5 separate regions of the Homo sapiens genome follow, and regions 2, 3, 4 and 5 are each linked to region 1. Evidence: promoter capture Hi-C in 16 types of primary human blood cells and fetal thymus (Javierre and others, 2016). All regions are on one chromosome and are shown on one strand. Each heading gives the region's core, a stretch centred on a gene start or on the middle of the fragment in contact. The rest is flanking DNA. Distances are from core to core; before and after follow the strand shown. Region 1 holds the start of ATP1B3 (ATPase Na+/K+ transporting subunit beta 3). Region 2 holds the start of TRPC1 (transient receptor potential cation channel subfamily C member 1). Region 3 overlaps PXYLP1 (2-phosphoxylose phosphatase 1). Region 4 has its middle 12 kb from the start of ZBTB38. Region 5 holds the start of SLC25A36 (solute carrier family 25 member 36).

Region 1 (2,700 bases), core at 108-2,607:
TTTCTCCATGCTTATCCTAAAAATGTTGTGCCCAAATAGTTCTAAGCTCTCGAGATTTATTCCCACTCAGAAAGAAATGGTCTTTCAAGACCCACTAACAAAATGTTTCAAAAGGATTTAAAAAGGTAAAATTAGTTTACTTAAGTATAAAGGCAAAAAAAAAAAAAAGCTCTAGCCTGCATTCAGAGATTGATACAATTTTAGGAAAAAAAGGCATCCTAAAGCTACTCTACACGGTAGATGGTTTAAATATATTAAAACAAAGAGCTCACGCATAGAAAAAATCTGCTAACATACAACCATCACTCTCCTGTTTTGAAGACACGGGAAAAAAAAAAAAAACCTGTGTTGTTCAGACAGGATTTACTTTCCCCAAAGAAGCAAATTTGTAAGGAAGAAAACCTCTGTAATTAAAAAGGAATCCGGGAGGAACCAACCTTTTTAAGGGCCTTTTCACTGTCCAAATTCAAGTGCATTTTCTTGTACAATGTACTTCTGTGATTAACTCACCGCTACACGTTTAAGCAACCCACACCCACACTTAACACTCAGTCGCACTCTTCCGACCGGTCGGGGTGGCAGCGTGGACGAGTCACAAGATAGCGGCGGGAGTGGAAATTTCCTCTCCCCTGGAGTGGGGCAGGGTCTGGCTTCTCCGAACCGCTCAGCGGGCCGGGCGCCTCCGCCAGGGCCTCTCGGGCCGGAGCGCTCCGTACAAAGGAGGCCCGGGGGCTCGGCTCCTGCACTCTCGGGGCCCGGCTTCGGGCAGGGGTCCCCGGCTTCCGGCGCCGCGCCGGGCGGGAGGCCCGGGCAGCACGTGCGCCCCGCTCCCAGCAGGGAGGGAGGAACCAGCGCGGCCCGGCCGGGCTGCCCGCGGGCCCCGCTGCTTCGGGAGCGAGCTGCGGCCAGTCCGGCCGGCCCGGGGAGCAATGAATGGGGCCGCACTGCGCCGCCGCCGCCCGGGTTAGGGTCGGGCGGTCGGGAGCCCCGGCGCTGGGAGCCGCCTCCCGCCTTTCCGTTCCCACCAGACCGCGCCCGGCGCCCCCGGGACCGAGGCCGGCCCCGGACGCCCAGCTGCTGCCCGCTCACCCCAGCTCTTGGCGGTGCGCCCCAGGAATTCTCCGGTGGTCGGGTTGTAGATGAAGAGCTTCCACTCGGCCAGGCTCTGGTTGAGGGACTTCTTCTCGTTCTTCGTCATGGTGTGCGCGCGGACGGCGAGAGGAGCTGCGGCCGCGGGGATGGAGGCGGCGAGGGCTGCGGAGGCGCGTCCCGGCTCCGGCGGCGCAGCCCGGAGACGGCAGTGAAGGGTGGGACGGCCGAGAACACCTCCTCGTTACGGGGAGTACTCGAGCCGACTGCGCCGCGCCGCGCCGGGCGGCCGCTTGGGCCGCGGGAGCCTGACGTCTCCGCCCGCCGCAGCCAATCCCCGCGCCGCTCGGCCCGCGCCGCTGCCGCCTCCCGCCAGCGGCCGGGGCGCTGCCTGAGGCGGCGAGGGCGCCCCACCCCGCCCCGGCCCCGCCCCGCAGTAGCCTCGGGGGCTCCCTCAGCCTGGGTCAGAGGAAGCGAGAAGAAAGTCTAAAAATCCGAAGGTTTAGTCGCACGCACGTTTATAATAATAGCAAAAGGCGGGCGTCCCCGCGCCGCAGGTTGCTTAGGAGGAGGACTGGGTTTCCTGGGCGTTCCTGGGCGCCGGGGCGCTGAGAAGATGCTACCCGCGGCGGGCGGGTGCGGAGAGCACGAAAACGACTCCAGTCGGCCCGCGGCTTCCTCTCTGAGGGAACTTAATCGTCCCCTCCCCGAACTGCCTCCCCGACCGTCCCCAGGCGTTCTCTGGGCTCTGTGACGTTCCTACAGGACGCTCTCTGGGCTCTGTGACGTTCCTACAGGACGCTCTCTGGGCTCTGTGACGTTCCTACAGGACGCTCTCTGGGCTCTGTGACGTTCCTACAGGACGCTCTGCGGGGGATCGCGCGGGGCTCCCACAATGTACACGGTGCACTGCTGTTCTGAGAACGTCCTCGCTTGGCTCCCTTGAAGGGTTCAACCGGGAGCCTCGGGTCAATGGGAATTCCGTTCTAAATATGCCAGTGAATGGAGTATAATTTTTCTCGGGATTCAGTTGAATTTATCAATGAAATCTAAATACGTGCTTTCCCAAGGGTCCTGGCAACTGAAAGCTCCCAGCTTTTGCCCAGACGCTCCTACTCTTAACCCACAGGAAAGGAACACTCGTTGGAGGGTCCACGCCTGTGTAGTGTCGCCGGCTTTTCATCTCCCCTGTAGAGATCGCGGCCCTTGGGCGGAGCTGAGGGTGCCGGTAGCGTTTTCCTCCGCGAGATGGAGCTGACGAGTACGGGAGGGGGGGTGCCCTCAGACTCAGCGACAGGATAAAAGACTTTATAGGAATTTGCACAGAAGGTGCGGGGTGGGGGAGGTTGTTGTTGTTGTTGTTTATTTATTTATTTTTAGAAAAAAGCTCTGCCTCCGTTTTATTAGCAAATAAAAATTATGGAGAAATGTAATAGCCATCTTATTGTTTGGAGTGATGAATTATAATCTGTCTGGAAGTTTAAACAGCCTGCAAATGGATGAATTTTCCTTTTTCCTCACTTTTCTTACCAAAGCAAGAAATAATGAATTATACCTCCCACAAATGGAAAAGTGGTAAAATATATTCCTATAAAGTGCTTTTTTCACGCT
Region 2 (2,700 bases), core at 39-2,538, 850 kb before region 1:
CTTCCGTCCCGTCCTTACTTCATGTATCTCCACCTAGGATATTCCGTTATTAATGCCAGTCAACAGTCACTGGCTAAAGCACTGGTCAGGTGAAGCTAAATAATAGAGGGTCTGGTTTTGTTTTTAAGAAAAACAAAAACCAGGTGATGAGAACCCTCCATACGAGGCATCCTAAGGTAAGGTGACGGAATTTTCCGACTGGAGTGTCGGAAACTAGCCTCTCGACTCCCGGAAGGAATGAACTGCGAGCCAGAGAGAAGACCAGGTCATTCATGCGGTCAGTAGCAAGGGCGGCGCTAAAACGCTGGGGTCGGGGCTCCCAAGGCGCTACCTAAACCCCGGACCCCAAGGCCAGAGCCACCCCCGACGGTGCAGCGCTCCGAGGGCGCAGCCCCAGCTCCACTCTCCCGCCAGCTCCACACTCACAGGGCAGAGGCGGTGAGGAGAAGACCGCCTGAGGCAGCAGGCGAGGCGGGAAGACACTCGGCGCCTGAGACAGAGGGAATGCCCCGATATAAGTTGAGGCGGGGGAGAGGACTAAAGGTCTGGAGGACAGGGGCGTCCAGAGGAGAAAGGGGCCTAACTCTCACCCTTGTCGCACGCCAGCAAGAAAAGCTTCTCATTCAGCGTATTCTCCTCCTTCACCTCCCGCACATCCTTCAGCGCCATCACCTCGTTCGGCGAGGAAGAGGATGGAGAGGAAGGCAGGGAGGAGGAGGAGGCGCCCGAGAGGTCCGTGCTCGGGTACAGGGCCGCCATCATCGCGGCCCATGAAGGGGGCAGGCCAGGAGACGGGGGCGGGGCCCCCACCGGCCCCGACCCCGACCCCGACCCCAGCCACGCCCCAGGGCTGGAAAAAGGATGAGTCGTTCCCACTGCTGCCTCGGCTCGAGGCCCGTTGGCCCCGAAGGGCGTCGCCTCCCCTGAGAACCAGCACTCGCCCTCCACTGACAGCCCCAAGTTGGTGGCGGCGCATGCGCGGCCCCGGGGCCAGCGACCCCTCCCCAGCCGCCGGCGCCCCGGCCGAGCCGGTCCGCGCCCGTCCGGGGACGACAGTGTGGCGCGCGCCAGGGCGGCAGCCGAGCACGGGGCCGTGCCAGGAGTCGCAGGGGCCGCGCCTGGGGCGGCCTAGCCCAGGAAGAGGACGAGAGATCTGTGGGAGAGGAGCTCCAAGAGGCGCTTCTGCGCACGTTGGGCTCCAGGGCTGTGGGAACCGCTGGCCCAGCTGCGCTCCGAGGAGATGTTCGCGACTCTGTCCTCACGTCATCCTCTGCTCCTCTGTAGCGACGACACTAGGGAGGAGCCTGCGGCAAGGGCGGGCTTGGGTGGGCGGGGCCTGCGGCAAGCGGGGCGTGGGTGGGTGGGGCCTGCGGTGGGGACGCACTGGGCTCCTGGAGCCCGCTGCAGCTTCCTTCGCTCTGGTGAGGTGAACCGCAGTCTGAGGAAGACTTCGCTCAATCGTCCCTTTCCACACCCAGGGTACTGGTTTAAGGTAATTAAGCAAATATGGAGCAGTATGTTAATTGAGTCTCTGACGACTTAATGTTTAGTCGAAATCCTTTGTGGAATTGTCCAGCTATTTCATATTCTGGTGCACTATGCTTTAAAGCACAATGGAGAGCCAGACTCGTGGGTTTGTATGTTGTACTCATTTTAGGCTGGAAATGAACTCTCATTTATAAAGGATATATAGATATATAATTATATTATGTTTAAATAATTTATACAAATATATAAATTTTTATTTCCATATTATTTCCATAGGTTTTTGAGGAACAGGTGGTGTTTGGTTACATGAGTAAGTTCTTTAGTGATGATTTGTGAGATTTTGATGTACCCATCATCGAGCAGTATACACTGAACCTAATTTTGTAGTCTTTTATCCCTCTCCCCCTTCCCAACCTTTCCCCGAGTCCCGAAAGTCCATTGTGTCATTCCTATGCCTTTGCATCCTCAAAGCTTAGCTCTCACTTGTGAGTGAGAACATACGATGTTTGGTTTTCCATTCCTGAGTTACTTCATTTAGAATAAGAATAATAGTCTCCAGTCCCATCCAGGTTTCTGCGAATGCCATTTATTCATTCCTTTTTATGGCTGAGTAGTATTCCATCATTATATATATATCACATATATATATACCACATATATATATATATATATATATATCACAGTTTCTTTATCCACTCATTGATTCATGGGCATTTGGGTTGGCTCCACATTTTTGCAATTGCGAATTGTGCTGCTATAAATATGCATGGGCAAGTATCTTTTTCGTGTAATGACTTCTTTTCCTCTGGGTAGATACCCAGTAGTGGGATTACTGGATCAAATGGTAGTTCTACTTTTAGTTCTCTAAGGAATCTCCACACTGTTTTCCATAGTGGTGTACTAGTTTACAGTCCCACCAGTAATGTAGAAGTGTTCCCTTTTCACCGCATCCACACCAACAGCTATTATTTTTTGATTTTTTTGATTATGGCCATTCTTGCGGAAGTAGGGTGGTACATACGGCATAGCAGTTTTGACTTGGAATTCCCTGATCATTAGTGATCTTGAGCATTTTTTCATATGTTTGTTGGCCATTTGTGTATCTTCTTTTGAGAATTGTCTATTCATGTTTTTTTGTTTTTTCTTGAGACAGAGTTTTGCTCTTGTTGCCCAGGCTGGAGTGCAATGGCGTGATCTTGGCTCACCGCAACT
Region 3 (2,700 bases), core at 197-2,696, 640 kb after region 1:
TAGAGCCAGGGTTTAAAGTCAGTTTGGCCTCTGAATGTACACACTCAATCACTGCACTGTGCTGAATACACAACCAACTCAGGTACTCTAGTATTAGGAAGTCATCAACAGAGAACCTCTGACATCTACAAACCTTGAGAAGTCCTTTCAGGTTTCTGGGTGCTACATACAGAGTTTTTGTTTGTTTGTTTGACTTGCAGAAAGTTTTAGAGAAAACCAATGCCTATTTTTATCCCTAAGAATAGGACCACCTACAATTTTCAAAAAACTATGTAACCACATTTGGTTATCAAGCAACGTGGGCAGGGATATCCAGGTTTACATAGTATTTCTCTGCTTATGAGATCTGAATTCTAGAGGAAGCCTTTTAACCATCCCAAGGTCCCATCTCCCCATCTCTAAGCAGATCGCAGGCTTATTGAATCAAATGAGATATGGACAAAGTTGCTTTTTTATATAGTAAGGTACTGTATAAACATAATGCATGATCCTAATAATTAATATAACTTGCATAAAATATTATATACTTATTAATCTATACTTGCCAAATTTTCTATACTTTCAAGATAGTTCATATTTATATCTATGTTTTAAGATTTAAGCTTAATAGTTTATTTCTGTAAGTCCCTCCATTATTATTTCTGAGCTTCCAAAAATTTGTTCTACAACTTTACTAACTTTACGGTAATCCAACTGCCACTTTCATTTTAGAAGCATAAAGCCTTAACAAGACAGTAAATGTTTAATTCTAACTAGATTCTCCTATGTCTGCAGAGAACAAACAGCAAGTAAGAGCTTCATTTTATTTTACGGTTAAAAGCTCAAAATGATACTGCTGGATCTCTGAAGGCCTGAAGGTTGGTGTTAGATCCAAGAATGAGGTAAGCTTAGGAAAGCAAGCTGTGGTTTTGTTGGTTGAAAAGACACATGTCTCTGAATAACTGAGGGGTGGGACAAATAGTATTCAAAATGATTTGTAACTTTAATGTAAATGATGGCTGTAACCACAAACAGAAGTGGAGGAGGAAAGGGGAGAGAGTGGGGGCATCAAAACCAGGTGCAATAATTTTCATCTTAATATGCTTTTTAATCAATATGCTATTGATTACAGCTCTTTCTGAGGAAGCTGGTCACACCCAGGGGCATAAGGGTGGCGAGCAGGTGACAAAAGGATGCCCTGTAAACTGAAACATGAGTGTGTAAATTGGGGAAATGATTCTGCAAATACAAAGAGAATTTTAAAGTTACTACAGTCTCTACTACCACATGTTTGAGTTCCCCCAAACTCTCCTCCACCCTCGAGTACGCAGCTCAGAGGGAGCTCCACTGATGGAGGGAGGGGCAGACGCATGCACAGATGACTGTGGGCCAAGGGAATGAGGTGAAGGGTGCCTCCTGACTGCAGAAACTACTCCCCAAGCCGCCATCCAGTTCTTCTTCCATGCCTTTTTAATCATTAACTTCTTCCAGACTCCTGAGATTGTTCCCGCCATCACTGCAGACTGAACTTTTTCCAAAAGCCAGTGGCTTCCCCAGCCAAAGTCCAAAAAGGGTCAGAGAAGCCTGCTGGTTTTGAGGGTGGAGGATAAACAGGCCAGAGTCTGTGGCTCAGTTAGGTGTTAGTTGGCCAGGGCCCTCCTGCCTTTTGGACTCAGAGCGGACCCTGAAATTCATTCTGGGTTCACGGGTGCCTCCTCGTGGCTGCCATGCAGCATCTCCAGGTTGAGAGGCTCCAATGGGCCGTCGTTTACCTGCAAGGCTGCACAGCAGGTTCAAAAAGAGTCCCTGGGAGATGCTTCTATCAAAAGGCCCACCATCCTACTAGAAAGCTGCTCCCTCTTCTTCACCTCCTAAATACAGGTGCACAGACCTTCCAAGCCACTGCTCCTTTTGTCACTTACCTAGACTCTCCCCTCAGCACCTCAGGTGAGATGAAGTGGCAATGGCTGCAATCTGAAGTGGCCATGGGGGCTCTCCAAGTGGTACCCTGTCTCCCTGGAAGCTTCCTCCATTGGAAAATGGGTGATGTCAAAGGGGACTGGGGCTACAGCTCAGGGCCTATAAATTAAGCCATGGTAAAGTGGCTTCCCAGGCCAAACCCCAGACCAATCTTGCTCAAGCCATTATTTCCAAAAGGGCACACACCTCATTCAAAAACTTCAAACAGCTCAGTGCTCTCCTGCCGTGCTAAGCCCAAGTCTCAGCTGGCTTTCAAGGCCTTCTCAAAACCAGAATGATGGGCCCAGCAAATGGATTTCAGATTCCCATGGGGTCATTTTTCCTATCTCAGTGACTTTGCTCCTAACTGGTAACCCCTACACTGGAATGTGGGCACACTTCCTTATCCACCAACCAGGAACCTTGTCCAGGGACAGGTTCTGGGGCCAAAATCTCCCCCTATGAATTTTCAGGACCTTGAACATTCTCCTATCCTTTCTCCCACCCACCTCTAGATAGTAGTATGTCTCTTTCTCCCTCTCCTCCCTTTCTCTTACTCACAGACTGCAGGCATTAATTAAACCTCTTCTAGAAAACAGATTTTCACCAGCTGCAGGAATTCTGAGCCAGACCTGAAGACAGAGACAATCTGGGTAAGAAAGATAAGTTCGTGACAGCCAGGGGCAGTGCAGGCTCCCACAGCCAAGTGGCAGTCTCAATTTTAGCCCTTTCCAGATTCCCCCACAAAAAAAGGGGGACATG
Region 4 (2,700 bases), core at 59-2,558, 520 kb after region 1:
TTCAACAGACTTCCTGTGGCGCTTACCTTGTCCTCTTTCATAGGCTGATTGGCTATATGACCACAGTTTCTGAATCAGAAGTTGGTGCTAATACTGTGTCAGTAAGAAAGAATATTACAAACCAGGACTACTTTAGAAAATTTGGATTATGTGGCTACCATAATAGCCTTCCCACTAGAGTGTATGATCTTTATTGGGAAACATCTTTTCCTCTCTCACAGAGTTCTCACCACGGTCTCTCAGATGAATAAAAGAGCTTAGGTTCCTTTTTTCTCTACAATGCATATAAAATGTGGTTAGGTGGTGTTAATTAAGGGTCTTACCTCTGCATTATACAACAAATAAATAAAAGCTAAGTTGATGATACAAACTTTTTTAAAGACCACAAAAATAGCCAGGCGCAGTGGTTCATGCTGTAATCCCAGCACTTTGGGAGGCTGAGGTGGGCAGATCACCTGAGCTCAGGAGTTCAAGACAAAAATTAGCAGGGCGTGGTGGCGGGTGCCTGTAGTCCCAGCTACTCAGGAGGCCGAGGCAGGAGAATCGCTTGAACCCCGGAGCCGGAACTTGCAGTGAGCCGAGATTGCGCCACTGCACTCAAGCCTGGGCAACAGAGCGAGACTTCATCTCGAAACAAACAAACAAATGAACAAACAAACAAAACAAAACAAAAAACAAAAGATGACAAAAATACCAAATGGAAAAATAAAAGAATATTTTTATAATGGAGGGTGCCTTCCTGAATAAGTCACAAAACTCCAAATACCATAAAGTAAGTCATTGATAGATTTCTTTGCATAAAAACCCTGTTTGGCTAAAGACACCATAAACACTGTTGAAAGACAAATGACATACTTTGAGAAAATATTTTCAGGAGAATAATAAAGGATTAATATCAGTGCTAATAGAACAAACAACACACAAGAAAGAGGGCAAAGAAAAAAAAGTAAGTCATAGAAAAAGTACCAATGACAAATAGTATATAAAACATGTTCAATATCACTAGCGTCAGGGAAATGGAGACCAACACAAGGAGGGTCATTTGCCTGTCGCATTGGCAAACATGGAAAAGATTAAGAATATGCCTAATGGTCAAGTGTATGGAGAAAAGATCAAACACAAATAGTAGTAATGAGAAAACAAATTGGTTCTATATAATTTATAACATATATTATACATAATTTTGAAGACAGCAATTTGGTAGTGATCTAATTATTTTCTGCAATGAACAGATATTACATTTATAGTTCCCAAGTGAACTTTTAAAAAAAGTCATTCTTGATGATTAATGAAGGAAATCTTAAATCTTTTTTCCCCAATTTCTCCATTCTAAGACACTTATATAGAATACGCTTATTAAGATAATTTCCCAGTTGTTTGCAATAACAAATAAGGAAGCCTAGCAGGAACAATCATCTTTAAAAGCTCTCCTCTAACACTTTAAGTGAGAATTTAAGAATTGCCCATATTTGCCTGGACTGATACAGCCAGAGCACTTGACCAATTGACCAACTCGATGAGGAGAGCAGGGAGGGGGACGAGATGCTGCTCTGCCTTGGTTTCCCCATCCCTGGCTTCCCTTGATTGGTATTTGGTTGTGTCAATGTGTTTTGTTTCCCTGATGCTTGGTGAGGCTTTCATGTAAGGTTAGATGTAGTACAGAATTGTGTCAGTCTTTATGGTCGACCAAATACCGAGGCTTCCCCTGAACCTGGCATATTTTCTTACCCTACTGTCTTTCCTAAACAGAGCCGCAGCAGCCCTGTAACACTTTTGTATGAGTGAGAAAAGGTGTCCCTTGAAGTGTAGCCCCATGCCAGGATGCAAGGCTGGGCGAGGGAAGAGCCGTCTGTCTTCTCACCCCTGGGCCACTGTATGAGCAGTCCTATTCCTTACTCCAGCCCTAGTCCAACTGCTGTGCAGGAAATCCTAACAAATTGCCATTTCCTCACTTCCCATGGTCCCAGGGCACAGCAGCATCTGCTACAGTTAATGCTTTCTTTCCATGGCTCCTCTTTCAGAACTGCCCTTTGAGATTTCATCAGGGCTCCACATCGCCTTTGTTAATGCACTTGGCCACACAACCCCCACTCCACCACACACACACAAACACACACCTATAGGCTGAGTGTTCACCCATGAAACAGAGTGGCAGAGAAGTTAATTGGTGTCCTTTTTACTGCTGCGGCCTTACCAGCAAAAAAGCATGATAAGGGAATTTCTTCTTAGCTTTGAATTTTGTGTCTTGGGCTGGCTCTCCTTCCTCAGGGGGAAAGAAATAGCCCTTTGTGCTTTGGAGCCTAAAACAGAGAAGTTTTTGGGCTCCCAGGATAAAGCCCCTCCACTCAGATCTTTGTTTGAAATCCAGACTGATTAAGAAGAATTATTCAGGATGGTGGAGACAGTTGCTGTGGCTAAAGGAGGAGAGGATGGTCCAGCCCTACTGGTGACCCCCCTAAGATGGGAAGTCTGTGTGGGAGGTGGGTGTTTGGGCTAGAGATTTACAGGGTGGCAGGGATCTACATCCCACCCCTGCTGTGTGAACTCAGGTGGGAGCTACTGGAAAGCCTGTGGAGGCTGCACACTGTACGCTCTGACTTTGAGAGCCGGAGTAGGGCTCTCCATGGATAACCTGTGGCCAGGGGAGACAAGCACAGCACCAAGACGCCTTTCCATGGCCCCCTAGAGGGTCCAACTAGC
Region 5 (2,700 bases), core at 120-2,619, 930 kb after region 1:
CGGTAAGAGTCTCAGCATAATTCACCGAAGGCATTTTTGATAAGAAAACTCTTTATAATCCTCCAAATAAGTAACTCTTAAAATTGCTATGATTCTCCAAATGATTTAGAAGGAGCAAATCTAAACAGGAGGCTAAACTGGAAGCTCTAACACTCATTTTGGCAATCAGGGAACTAAGACTTTAGGCTTAGTCCTAATCTTGCACACACATAGTAACTATTAACACTATCTTCAAAAAATCTGACCTCTCTCCACTCCTACTTTCTCCTAAGCAGCAGAAAAGCAAGCGGTGTTCAAGAGGGGTGGTTTTCTCGAAAGGAATCTGACCCCAAAGGTACTGGAAAGCTTTGCACCCCATTCACCACCTGGAAAACCTCGGGCAAGAAATTTTCCAAGGGCTAGAAACACCCTACAGCAACCACGGGAGAATACCAAAGCCTTCCCCGCTCGATCCCGTAGCCCCCTTACCACCCACCTTGCAAAGCCGAGCCCGGAAATGAGCGGCCCGAGGTCCGAGGTGGGGCGTGAGTGACGTGCAGAGGCCCAAGCGAGCGCTGCAAGGAGCGAGGGCTAAAGGAGTCTCCGGCGCCCATTTTGTCCTCAGCCTCCGCACTTTCCGCCCCGTCCCCTTGGGCCATGCAACCTACGCGAAATCCGAAGCCAGGCTCCTCAAAGCGGCCCTGGATCCCCGACGCCTGCTAGATTGCGGCGTGCGGCCAGGTCCAGCGGCGTCCGGGTAATCAAGCGCCGACCCCAGCTCTTGCCCGCGTCTCCTCAGACGCATGGATTCGGCCTCCGCCTCACCCCGGCCCCGCGGGCCCAAAACCTCACTCCCGGCCCGGGTTTCATGCCTCAACCCTCTTTGCCCGGGCCTCACTCTCTCGCCCTCGGGCCCGGGCCTCACCCCCTTGCTTCCCCGAACCGGAGCCCCCCTCACCACCCACGGGCTGGGTCGCTCCCCTCACCCGCAGGCCCGTGGCAGCTCCCCGCCCAGGCCTCACTCCCGCCCCCCCACCCCCCCACCCCCCTCGGCCCCCCTCGCCCCCCTCGCCTGCGTCTTCGGCCCCAGCACCCTCAGCCCCAGTGCGCACGCCCCGCCAGGACCTTACCCTCCGGCAAACAGATGCACCAGCGTGTCCCTCTGGCTCATTCTCTCTCCCGCATGTCCTCCGGCCGCTGAGGCGGGACGCGGATCTGGCCGCCCGCTACGGCAGGCGGCTTCGGTCCCGGACTGGAGACGCACAGCGCCCCGGGGACGGCGAGGAGAGCTGGCCGAGATGCGGCTGCAGAAAGCAACCGGCACAGCCCTCCCCGCGGCACTCCAGCCGCGCCACCGCCTGCCTAAGCGCGCCGCCCTTCACCAGAGGCTGAAAGCGACGCAGCGCAGCGCGACGGAGAGTGGGCGGGGGATGGTAGGGGGAAGATGACTATTTGATGGCTCCCGACATAAACAGAGGCTCCCATTGGTGTGAGCGTCGTGACGTCACGCACTCTGCAGTGTTCTTTCACGTGATCCCTACGGGCTCTTTCAATGAAAGGGGCCGCGAGGCGTGGCCAGAACGCGTGCCCGGAGGGTGGTAGGTCACCGCGCTCCTAGCACCTGAGACCTGGGGCGCCCCTGGCCTGAGTGAACGCGCCAATCACGGCTGCACTCTCCTGAACAGGGAACTGGCGGGGCGGGAAAAATCGACTTGGTTCCGGGTTCGCAAGCGGATTTACTTTGAAAAAATTGGATTTATGACCCAGCAGTTCCCTTGGTGTCTATCTCAGAGTAACCCTCGCACAATGCATAAAAAGGTTTGTGCACGGATACTCCTATATAGGCTCACAAACAGTACAGAATTATGAACAATGCTTGCAGTTGCAGAAAATTGAAATCAGTGGGGGAATGAAGAAATAAATCATGAAACATTCCTACTATGGAATATTATGCAATCGTGACAAGGGATGAGGTGATTCCATATGGCAAAAAATCTCCCGAAGTGTGTAATAAGTAAAAAAGGCAAGTAGAATTAAAATACTTGGGTTTGTTTTTAAAAGAATAAAAGTTCATGGGAAATGGAATTAAAAGATAAAATTTAAAAATATAAACTTTGTTTTTCAACGTAAGCTCCATCAAGTTAAAGACAGTTTGGTAAGTGATGATACCGGCTCTTTAGTCCATCTGTAAAGAATTGAGGGTTCTGGGAATTTAATCATGAAAATGCAGGCTTTTTTACGTTATTAACTGAAGAAAAATGGGTGCCATTTACAGATTTTTCACGATTAGAAAACAAAAATATGTCAGAAGGAGCCAGGTCAGGAATGTAAGATGGATACCTGATAGTTTCCCATCGAAATCCCTGGAAAAATGCCCTTATTTAAAGAGAGGAATGAGCAGGAACATTGTCCTGATGGAGAAGGACTCTCTGGTGAAGATTTCGTAGGTGTTTTTATGCTAAAGCTTTGCTTCACTTTCTCCTATAGTAAGCGGATGTTATTGCTCTTCCACCCTCCAGAAAGTCAACAGGCAAAATACCTTGAGCATCCCAAAAAGCTGCTGCTATGACTTCGGCTCTTGACCAGTCTACTTTTGATTTGACTGGACCACTTGCACCTCTTGGTAACTATTGCTTTGATCCAGAATCATACTGAGAAAGCTATGTTTGATCTCCTGTTACAATTCTTCAAAGAAATGTTTCAATATATGATCCCACTTGT

The links. Contacts are between HindIII fragments. The CHiCAGO score rates a contact against its expected background, and 5 or more counts as called.
Region 2: a contact is called between the fragment with the promoter of TRPC1 here and the fragment with the promoter of ATP1B3 in region 1, in 2 of 17 cell types (fetal thymus and total CD8 T cells). The highest score is 5.7, in fetal thymus.
Region 3: a fragment that was not itself captured here is called in contact with the fragment with the promoter of ATP1B3 in region 1 in 2 of 17 cell types (activated CD4 T cells and fetal thymus); the score reaches 7.4 in activated CD4 T cells.
Region 4: a contact is called between a fragment that was not itself captured here and the fragment with the promoter of ATP1B3 in region 1, in 1 of 17 cell types (naive B cells). The highest score is 5.3, in naive B cells.
Region 5: the fragment with the promoter of SLC25A36 here is called in contact with the fragment with the promoter of ATP1B3 in region 1 in 1 of 17 cell types (activated CD4 T cells); the score reaches 5.1 in activated CD4 T cells.

Annotation. Positions count from the first base shown.
Region 1 is chr3:141,875,300-141,877,999 of GRCh38, reverse strand. It overlaps ATP1B3 (ATPase Na+/K+ transporting subunit beta 3), which reads right to left and starts at 1,357. Exons shown (of 7, transcript NM_001679.4): 1 at 1,090-1,357. The coding sequence starts at 1,198. RefSeq lists silencers at 563-1,132, 1,403-1,532, 2,403-2,462. The HindIII fragment of the contact is 6,749 bases long and covers 1-2,700 here.
Region 2 is chr3:142,722,622-142,725,321 of GRCh38, reverse strand. It overlaps TRPC1 (transient receptor potential cation channel subfamily C member 1), which reads right to left and starts at 1,288. Exons shown (of 13, transcript NM_001251845.2): 1 at 591-1,288. The coding sequence starts at 762. RefSeq lists an enhancer at 1-736 and a silencer at 995-1,044. The HindIII fragment of the contact is 1,344 bases long and covers 618-1,961 here.
Region 3 is chr3:141,234,756-141,237,455 of GRCh38, reverse strand. All of the region lies in intron 1 of PXYLP1 (2-phosphoxylose phosphatase 1), which reads right to left. Among named protein-coding and RNA genes, the nearest start is that of PXYLP1, 4.3 kb to the right of the region's middle. The HindIII fragment of the contact is 1,116 bases long and covers 889-2,004 here.
Region 4 is chr3:141,355,478-141,358,177 of GRCh38, reverse strand. It overlaps a transcript of ZBTB38 not described here. Among named protein-coding and RNA genes, the nearest start is that of ZBTB38, 12 kb to the left of the region's middle. The HindIII fragment of the contact is 7,008 bases long and covers 1-2,700 here.
Region 5 is chr3:140,940,505-140,943,204 of GRCh38, reverse strand. SLC25A36 (solute carrier family 25 member 36) reads right to left here and starts at 1,369. Exons shown (of 7, transcript NM_001104647.3): 1 at 1,110-1,369. The coding sequence starts at 1,150. RefSeq lists enhancers at 216-445, 85-932, 1,026-1,395. The HindIII fragment of the contact is 2,098 bases long and covers 348-2,445 here.